2 separate regions of the Homo sapiens genome follow, and region 1 is linked to region 2. Evidence: promoter capture Hi-C in 16 types of primary human blood cells and fetal thymus (Javierre and others, 2016). All regions are on one chromosome and are shown on one strand. The core of a region is centred on a gene start or on the middle of the fragment in contact, and the rest is flanking DNA. Distances in the headings are between cores, read along the strand shown.

Evidence for each region. The method cuts DNA at HindIII sites, captures the fragments that hold promoters and counts their contacts. A CHiCAGO score of 5 or more calls a contact.
Region 1: a fragment that was not itself captured here is called in contact with the fragment with the promoter of IMMP1L in region 2 in 7 of 17 cell types (fetal thymus, naive CD4 T cells, total B cells and 4 more); the score reaches 7.8 in fetal thymus.

Annotation. Positions count from the first base shown.
Region 1 is chr11:32,586,058-32,591,015 of GRCh38, forward strand. EIF3M (eukaryotic translation initiation factor 3 subunit M) reads left to right here. Exons shown (of 11, transcript NM_006360.6): 2 at 955-1,087; 3 at 2,537-2,675; 4 at 2,955-3,078; 5 at 3,490-3,584. Among named protein-coding and RNA genes, the nearest start is that of EIF3M, 4.7 kb to the left of the region's middle. RefSeq lists a silencer at 650-749. The HindIII fragment of the contact is 1,687 bases long and covers 2,601-4,287 here.
Region 2 is chr11:31,506,639-31,511,127 of GRCh38, forward strand. IMMP1L (inner mitochondrial membrane peptidase subunit 1) reads right to left here and starts at 2,984. Exons shown (of 6, transcript NM_001304274.2): 1 at 2,881-2,984. ELP4 (elongator acetyltransferase complex subunit 4) reads left to right here and starts at 3,129. Exons shown (of 10, transcript NM_019040.5): 1 at 3,129-3,369. The coding sequence starts at 3,147. RefSeq lists enhancers at 3,122-4,011, 3,144-3,433. The HindIII fragment of the contact is 1,748 bases long and covers 2,470-4,217 here.

The DNA.
Region 1 (4,958 bases), core at 2,194-4,693, 1.1 Mb after region 2:
TGCCTCTACTAAAAATACAAAATTAGCTGGGCATGGTGGCGCATGCCTGTAATCCCTGCTACTTGGGAGGCTGAGGCTGGAGAATCATTTGAACCCCGGAGGCAGAGGTTGCAGTGAGCCGGGATCGCTCCATTGCACTCATGCTATTGCACTCCAGCCTGGGCAATAAGAGTGAAACTCCATCTCAAAACAAAACAAAAAAAAACTGCGTTTGTTTGGCTGCCATAAAGAGTCCCAGAAGAAAAATGGAATAAATATATATAATTCGGTAGTAGGGTAGGAAATGTCCAAGTGACTGAATGTGCTATTGTAGTTGTGTTTTTATAGGTCCGAAGATGCATGCTGACTCAGATATGCATTTTTAATTTTAAGAGATTAGTTACATAACAGATCCAGTTCGATGTAATTTTAAGGCAGCATTCACCGCATTGCCCTTTTGTGAACCAAAATGCTTATCTCAAATAGCTTCTCAACTGATTAACAAATGATTACCCTTTTGCCAAGGTAATGTCTGTAACTTTTCTAGTAGCTGTGGTTATGTGTGTACTTGAGAGCAATACTATTGTTCATTTCTTTCAAAAAAATGAAATCTGCCAAGTCAGATTGATTTCTTCTCCCCAGCAACCACACCCCCACCAAACCCTTTGGGTTATATTATCAAAAAGATTTTTGCTGTATGCTGGAAGTCCAGCAGGGTGCAGACTACATGAGAGAAATTCTGAAGGTGATCCATGGGGGCTGTAGTGTGTCTAAGGAGCCACTGGACCTCATGGAGGAAAACCTGTGGCTCTTGTGGGATTGCCAAGATGGATGAGGTGAGGGAGGGGTCTTCAACATTATTTGAAATAGTTGTTGAATACAGTATTTCCGTTTTAGTTTTTCAGAAAGAGGACAGAATTTGAGATTGTGCTTTGTCATTCGTAGTCAGTTTTATAATAGAGCAATCCTCAACAGGCTGCTGAGCTTCGTGCTTATCTGAAATCTAAAGGAGCTGAGATTTCAGAAGAGAACTCGGAAGGTGGACTTCATGTTGATTTAGCTCAAATTATTGAAGCCTGTGATGTGTGTCTGAAGGAGGATGATAAAGGTTTGTTTTTAATTTTTTTCTAATATTTCCTAATAAAATCTTTTAAATTTTTCTTGTGAATTATAGAGTCGTCCCTCATTATCTGAGGCAAGGAGGATTTGGAACCCTCAGATACAGAAGGCTGACTGTATTTATATGTTTTGAATTTCAGACTACAGGACTTTTAAATAGATAGGTAGTGGTTGTATGTATTTTGGGGGCACAGGTGATATTTTGATACATGTATGCAATGTGTAATTATCAAATCAGGGTAATTGGAATATCACACATCTTTTCTTTATGTTGGAAACATTCAACAGTTCTCTTCTAGCTCTTTCAACTATACAATACATTGTTAACCAGAGTCTAAGCACTGTTGTTTTCAATCTTACCTTCACACATGCTTTCAGTTTGTGTAATCTATTATACCTATAAAGTAAACCTATTTTGAGAAAACCTTTATTTTATACATAGGTGTATTTCTTAAGTGTTATTACACTAAATGCTTATAGTCTTAGAATAAAATGAAAAAAATGAAGCTCTTTCCTGTTCATAAGTTTCAGATTAACATCAAATGGGATACAGTTTCAAGTAATCTAATAGCCATTTAATTATTAGGCCAGTTTCCTGTTTATTGAGATAGAATGGGAAATTTTCAGAATTGTTGAGTTCGGAAATCTCTAGTTAAGGTTTAGAGATCAAACTTGGATGCTGATTTCGGCAGCACATATACAAAAAAATTAGATTAAATTTGGGATATGATTAATATCTGTAATACTTAAAAATAACTAATTCAAGCAGAGAGCTGACAGCTTTAATTTCTGATTTCCTATATGTATACACAAAGTTTTCCTTAATTAAGAAAGTATCCTAGTCCTAAATCATACCAGTAACTTCCAAATGATTGAATATCATGACAGTGAAAATTGAAACTTTATATACATGTAAATCAGTCTCTGTTTTACTAGTTAGAAACCACATCATAGGCCAGGCATAGTGGCTCACGCCTGTAATCCCAGCACTTTGGGAGGCCGAGGCAGGTGGATCACATGGTCAAGAGTTCAAGACCAGCCTGGCCAATATGGTGAAACCCCGTCTCTACTAAAAATACAAAAATTAGCCGGGCGTGGTGGCGGGTGCCTGTAGTCCCAGCTACTTGGGAGGCTGAGACGGGAGAATCGCTTGAACCTGGGAGGCGGAGGTTGCAGTGAGCCGAGATCGCACCACTGCACCCCAGCCTGGGCAAGAGAGCAAGACTTCATCTGAAAAAAAAAAAAAAAAAAAAAAAGAAACCACATCTTAGGTATCAATTTCCTTCCTCTTTAATAAAATATACAAGTTGCTTTCTGAATGCGAAAGTGTCTTACATTTGATGGTCTTCATTGTATTAAAACACTGGAAATGCATATTTAACTAGACGCATTGAGTATTGTAGTATCACTGTTGATTGTGTTATCCATACTTGTGTAGATGTTGAAAGTGTGATGAACAGTGTGGTATCCCTACTCTTGATCCTGGAACCAGACAAGCAAGAAGCTTTGATTGAAAGCCTATGTGAAAAGCTGGTCAAATTTCGCGAAGGTGAACGCCCGTCTCTGAGACTGCAGTTGTAAGTTAAGATCTGAAAGAAACTCAGTTTTTCTAGGTGCTTTTTTCATGTTACTAACTTTTAATGGTGCAGAGCAGGAATTCTGGAACTTGACTCTCAGCTGTGGCTCATATTAGCTGTGACCTTGGGCAAGTGGCTTGACCTTTCTGTGCCCTAGTTTCCTCCTTTGTAATATGAAGTTGTTAACGGTACCTGCCACAGGTTTGTGGTGAGAGCTAACCTCAACTTAAAACTGGTTGCTGATTTCAAACATTGTTTATTTGTTTGTTAACCAACCAGGTTAAGCAACCTTTTCCACGGGATGGATAAGAATACTCCTGTAAGATACACAGTGTATTGCAGCCTTATTAAAGTGGCAGCATCTTGTGGGGCCATCCAGTACATCCCAACTGAGCTGGATCAAGTGAGTTACTGTGTGGAATAGTTGTTCTGCTTATAAGAAATGTACTTTTTTTTTTTTTGAGACGGAGTTTCACTGTTGTTGCCCAGGCTGGAGTGCAATGGCGCAATCTCAGCTCACCGCAACCTCCGCCTCCAGGGTTCAAGCAGTTCTCCTTCCTCTGCCTCCTGAGCAGCTGGGATTACAGGCATGCGCCACCACGCCCGGCTAATGTTGTATTTTTAGTAGAGACGGGGTTTCTCTATGTTGGTCAGGCTGGTCTCGAACTCCCGACTTCAGTTGATCCTCCTGCCTTGGCCTCCCAAAGTGCTGGGGATTATAGGCGTGAGCCACCACGCCCAGCCAGAAATGTACTTTTATATGTTATACTTTATATGTGTTACTCAGTTTTCTCCTTTTGTCAATCTCTTGTAGGTTAGAAAATGGATTTCTGACTGGAATCTCACCACTGAAAAAAAGCACACCCTTTTAAGACTACTTTATGAGGCACTTGTGGATTGTAAGAAGAGGTATTCAAAAGTAATGAACTAACATATCACTTAACAGACAGTATAAGTAGGTGGGGATGTTTTTTAAAGAGAAGTAGGGCCAGTAATTTTGCTTTACTCTGTTCTCCACAGAGTTGCTATAAATCTATTTCTATAAATTTGACCTAAAGTTAAAGATAACTATAAAGATTAAAAGTAGTTTTCCCTCATCTTTGAACTTTTTAAAAAGTGAAATTTGGCTTTTTTTCTAAAAAAAGAAAGGTGGGGCCTTTCCAACATGGGCTTCAACCTACTGCTGTAGCATGAGCTTGGTGAATGTGGTGAAGCATCTCATCATTTTTGGATGGTGCAGTGGCAGACTACAAAAAACTTTGTGTTAATGTAAATATTCCATCTCTCCACCCATGTCCTTCCTCTTGCTTATCACACTCTAGACCCAGCGAGCCTATGTCAGGTATAAAAGCACCATGCTCTTTGCCAGTCTGGACCAGGAGCTGGCACTGGTTCTTCTATAGCCCGTGTACTAAGAATGGTTTTAACATTTTTAAATGATTGAGAAAGAAAATCAAAGAAAGGGTAATATTTCATGATATGTGGACATTATATGAAATTCAGATTTCAGGGTCCATAACATTGGTATTACATCCATGCCTATTCATTTACATATTGTCTGTGCCTGCTTTTGCCAAGAGTTTAGTTACAACAGATACCATATAGCTTGCAAAGCTTAAAATATTTACTCTCTGGCCCTTTATAGAACGTTTGCCTACCCCTTGTCTAAGTAGTCTTACTATAGTCAGCTTCATGTCTCTGCCAGAAACACCCCTCTCATATTTCGGTTAGTGCCTCCCTTTTACAGCACCCTCTACTTGTATCCTAGCATTTAACACCCTTAGTTGAAAGTAAGGTTGTAGGCTAAGTGAAGGCAAGGAACCTCATCTGTAAACCATTGCATTCCCAAGAAGATAGCACTTATTGGGCACTGAGTGGATAAATGCTACCCACAGTAGGGAACTGGAAGGGGATACTTGTTTAAACACGACATTTCTGACATTCTGCCAATCTAAATGTTGAGAGTTGGTTTTCTTCTTTAGAACACATAAAATACATATTTTAATCAGTAAAATTCTGAGATTTTACCTAGCAGTTAAGTAAAAATGCTTCAAGTTTATGGGTGCCCCCTTCATGACTTTATTTATATTGGTGGTTGATGCACATGGTGTTTGTTGTGCTTTTTTTTTTTTATTTGAGATGGAGTCTTGCTCTGTCGCCCAGGCTGGAGTGCAGTGGCGCAATCTCAGCTCACTGCGAGCTCCACCTCCCGGGTTCATGCCATTCTCCTGCCTCAGCCTCCTGAGCAGCTGGGACCACAGTTGCCGCCGCCACGCCCGGCTA
Region 2 (4,489 bases), core at 1,734-4,233:
GCAAAGATTTTATCTTTGTTAAAAAAAAAAAAAAAAAAGGCGGCTGGGCGCGGTGGCTCACACCTGTAATCTCAACACTTTGGGAAGCCGAGGCGGGTGGATCACAAGGTCAAGAGATTGAGACCATCCTGGCCAACATGGTGAAAGCCTGTCTCTACTCAAAATACATAAATTAGCTGGGCATGGTGGTGCATGCCTGTAGTCCCAACTACTCAGGAGGCTGAGGCAGGAGGATCATTTGAACCCAGGAGGCGGAGGTTGCAGTAAGCCGAGATCATGCCACTGCACTCCAGCCTGGCAACAGAGCGAGACTCCGTCTAAAAAGAAAACAAAAAACAAACAAACAAAAAACCCATATTTGGCTGACGCGCTGGCTCACACCTGTAATTCCAGCACTTTGGGAGGCCGAGGTGGGCGGATCACGAGGTCAGGAGACTGAGACCATCCTGGCTAACACGGTGAAACCCCATCTCTACTAAAAATACAAAAAATCAGCAGGGCGTGGTGACGGGCGCCTGTAGTCCCAGCTACTCGGGAGGCTGAGGCAGGAGAATGGTGTGAACCCAGGAAGGCACAGCTTGCAGTGAGCCGAGATCGCGCCACTGCACTCCAGCCCGGGGAACACACCTAGACTCCGTCTCAGAAAAAAAAAACAAAAGCATATTTATCCTACGATAGTGTTATACCAGATATATATCCTAATTTCATGAATACTCTGGTGTGTATATAGATCATCTTTCCAGAATTATAGTCCAAGTCAAAGTTGGAAAATAATTCTTCAGTTCTAGTAATGAGGCAAACAAAGCACCACTATCATCATCTTGGGAAATCTAAAGGGTTAAGTAAATACAGTAGGAAACAAGGGAATATGTAATACAGAAGCCTATAAAAACGAATTATACCATTATGTTAAGTGAAATAAGTCAGACACAGAAAGACAAATATCACATGATCTTACTCATAGGTGGAATCTAATAGTTCATCGCACAGAGAGTACAATGGTGTTTACCAGAGGCCAGGATGGTTGGCAGGGGGGATGGGGAGAATTTGGTCAAAGATACATAATATCAGTTAGATAGGAGGAATAAATTTCAAGAAATCTATTATATAACATGAATTTATAGCAAGCTGACTATAGTTAATAATCATATATTGTATTCTTTAAAAAAATGTAAACAGTGTAGATGTTATGTACTCTTACCACAAAAATGATAACTATGTGAGGTAATGCATTGCTAATTAGCTAGATTTAACGATTCCGGAATGTACATACACTTCATAGCATCATGAGGTACACAAAACAATGCCATCTGTCAAAAAATAATAATTATATGTAGCATTTCAAAAAGTTCACAGCATCAAAAATATTTGTAGGGGTGGGGGGACAGAGAGCATCAGGAAGAATAGCTAATGGATGCTGGGCTTAATACCGAGGTGGTGGGTTGATCTGTGCAGCAAACCACCACAGCACACGTTTACCTATGTAACAAACCTGCACATGAAGCCCAGAACCTAAAACAAAAGTTGAAGAAAAAAAAAATTCAAGACGTTTCTATCTGATATTGGACTGCTTTGTCACTTTTTCTTTTGGTCTTCCTAGTGCTTATTTACTACAGGATAAAATTAGCACATGCTATTTAATGTGTTCATTTTAAGTACTATGTTGTTTTCTATGTGTTAATTTTATCTCCTCCAGGTGAGACCATTTTTATTACCATAGGTCTAAAATGACAAGATTAAGTCCAAACAGACAGTAATCACTCAACAGCTATTTATTGAGTAACTTAAAGATTCAATATGAAAGCAACCTTGATCAAAGCTTTCCAGTTGATATATTGTGAAACAGGGTTTTTTCCTAAACATGATTCTAAAAAACAAGCAAACAAACAAAAATCCTCCCCAAATGAAAAACTCCAGTCACTATTTAGCAATACTAATTTCAATTTATCAAACAGAATCAGCCCAAAAATTTCAACAGGTCAGTGAGATTTAAAACAATTCGATGGCAAGAATTTCAATGAGGTTTGGCTCTAATTAAAAGGTATCACAGATCACTGTCAAAGTCAATAACTCAGTAGTGCGGTAATGATTTGGGAGTCCTTTTCAATTTAGACATTTGTCAATCATGATTGCCTTTAAACATCAGTTACCCACTGTCCCTGCTCAGTTTTGAAAAAAAAATTAAATACAAAAATACAACTCAAAATACATGTTTTTTCCACACATAAAATTGGTATTTTAGTAATAAACTCTCGATTCAGGGTTCATAAAATAAAGTAGGTATACTTCTAATTCTTCCTAGCAGTTTTTTGGGGGAAAGAAACCCTAAGTATTTTCTGTTATTTGCAGCTGCTTTAACAGCAAACGACAATTAAATGTGTGAACAAGGTTGTCAGAGTAACACTTGTCATTTACACCGCTTAGGAAAGACATCCAAGACTTCCAGAAACACTAATTAAAATTAACAAAAGCTTCTTATCGGAACTTGTCAGAGAGCTATAGTTTGTCAGACACAGGAAAACCAGATAGCCTCAAAGTTCAAGAGTTTTCGCTCTAAGGTTTAATTCCAAACCACCTACCACTAGGCACTAACGAACTAAGCCCAGACGCTCAGCAACCAACTCATTAAGGTAAGAGATCCCATCCTTTCCATATAACACAAAATTAAGAAAAAGACATCGTGGGGAAGGCGGAGTGAATTTTCTATCAGAAATCAGAAGATAAATGAGCAGGAAAAAAGTCTATCCTCACACACAGCGGAGAAAGGTGCTAGCAATTGCTTGATAAGCCCTAAGGGTTTATTGTTTCACCAACCTTTTCTTTAACTCAATGTGAATGAAGGCACTCAAAAGGAGAAGAACGTTACGTGATATTACCTACCTCGGGCCCCAAAGAACCCTGGAGACCCTCAACCAGGACACAGGTGGGCCTTTCTCACCTGGGCCCCGCCGAAGTCGACCGTCCTTTCGTAGGGCGCACTTTTCAGCAATACGCCTTCCGATTGGTTGGCTCGGGACTGACGTCTCAGTCCTATTGGTTACGAGAGCCGCGGTTGGGGCGAGGAGGCGGGAGTTTGGCACTGGTTCTGATAGGACGGGTGTTTGCGTTCCCAGAGTTCCTATTGGGTTAACACTGGAGGCTCTAAGATGGCGGCAGTGGCAACCTGCGGTAGTGTTGCCGCGAGTACTGGGTCTGCAGTGGCGACAGCCAGCAAGAGCAACGTCACCAGTTTCCAGAGGAGGGGTCCTAGAGCCAGCGTGACCAACGACAGCGGCCCTCGACTGGTGTCCATTGCGGGCACGCGACCGTCGGTGCGGAATGGACAGCTGCTGGTATCAACCGGGCTCCCAGCCCTAGACCAGCTCTTAGGTCGGTTCAGAGCGGAGATCTGGGCTCAGCCGAGGGGAAACTTAGGGAGGGGACCTGTCGGGGAAGCCACTTTGACCCCACATCTCTTTCTGACCCCTAAACCTTCGGAGGAGGAGAGAATAGCCTGGTCTGATTGAGATGGAGGGGAATACGGGTTGTGTGGAGACTTCTGAGCGCTGTTAACTAAACATGTTTTAGTGCCCTCGCTCTCTATTTCATTCCCTGCCCTCCAACCCCTTTTCATATTACGGAGGAATTCGTACATGCTTTTTACCCTGAAATGCTTTCTAGTCAAGGGAAGACATTAATTTATGGAGATGGTTTGGCTTTCATTCAGGATACCTCCCTTCTGCTTTCTCCAGGCAGCTCACGGTTTAGACCAGCCTGCAAAAGTTTTTATAATTGTGAGAGACAGACTTCATTAGAAGATGCTGGAAAAAAATGATTTCCCCTCTTTGACCGTCAGACTGCCTGTTCTCTGGTTCTAAATCTTAAAACATTTTGGCTTTAAGAGAGCGAATGTTAAAGGCTTATGTTGACACATAATCCTTATAAAGTATTTTGAGCCTGTCGTTGATATTTAGATAGTGTCTGCGTTAAATCTGTGTATATATTTTTTATTTTTTCTATATACATTTTGCTTCCCAGTATTGATTGCTGCTACATTCCATACGACATCTTTAAATTTAACTCACATTTTAACGAGAAAAGTCTAGTTCTTAGGCTTTCCTTTAAAATCTCTGGAATTTTTTATGAGAAGCCTGCTGAAGAATATGCTTGTTTCATAACTGTTATATTCAAAGGAATGACCAGATTAAGTTGGTAGGACAGATTTGCTGTGTTAATAAAGCTTCTAGATTAATTTCTGAATGCTGTTTCATTAAAACCCCGTCTGTGTTTACATAACTTTTTTCATAGTGTGTGATATGTGTCTGTTAAATCTTGTACACTTTCATAAAATATAACTCATTGCTTGTTCTTGTACTTCGTTTGACATTTCTTTCGGTTATTTTCCCCTCAAAGTAGGCTTTTCATAGGTTTAGTGCAGAGAAAGTAAGAAGACCAGCAACCTATGAGAAAGAGTATGGCTTCTTGATTCTCTCATTTCATTTTCCGGTTA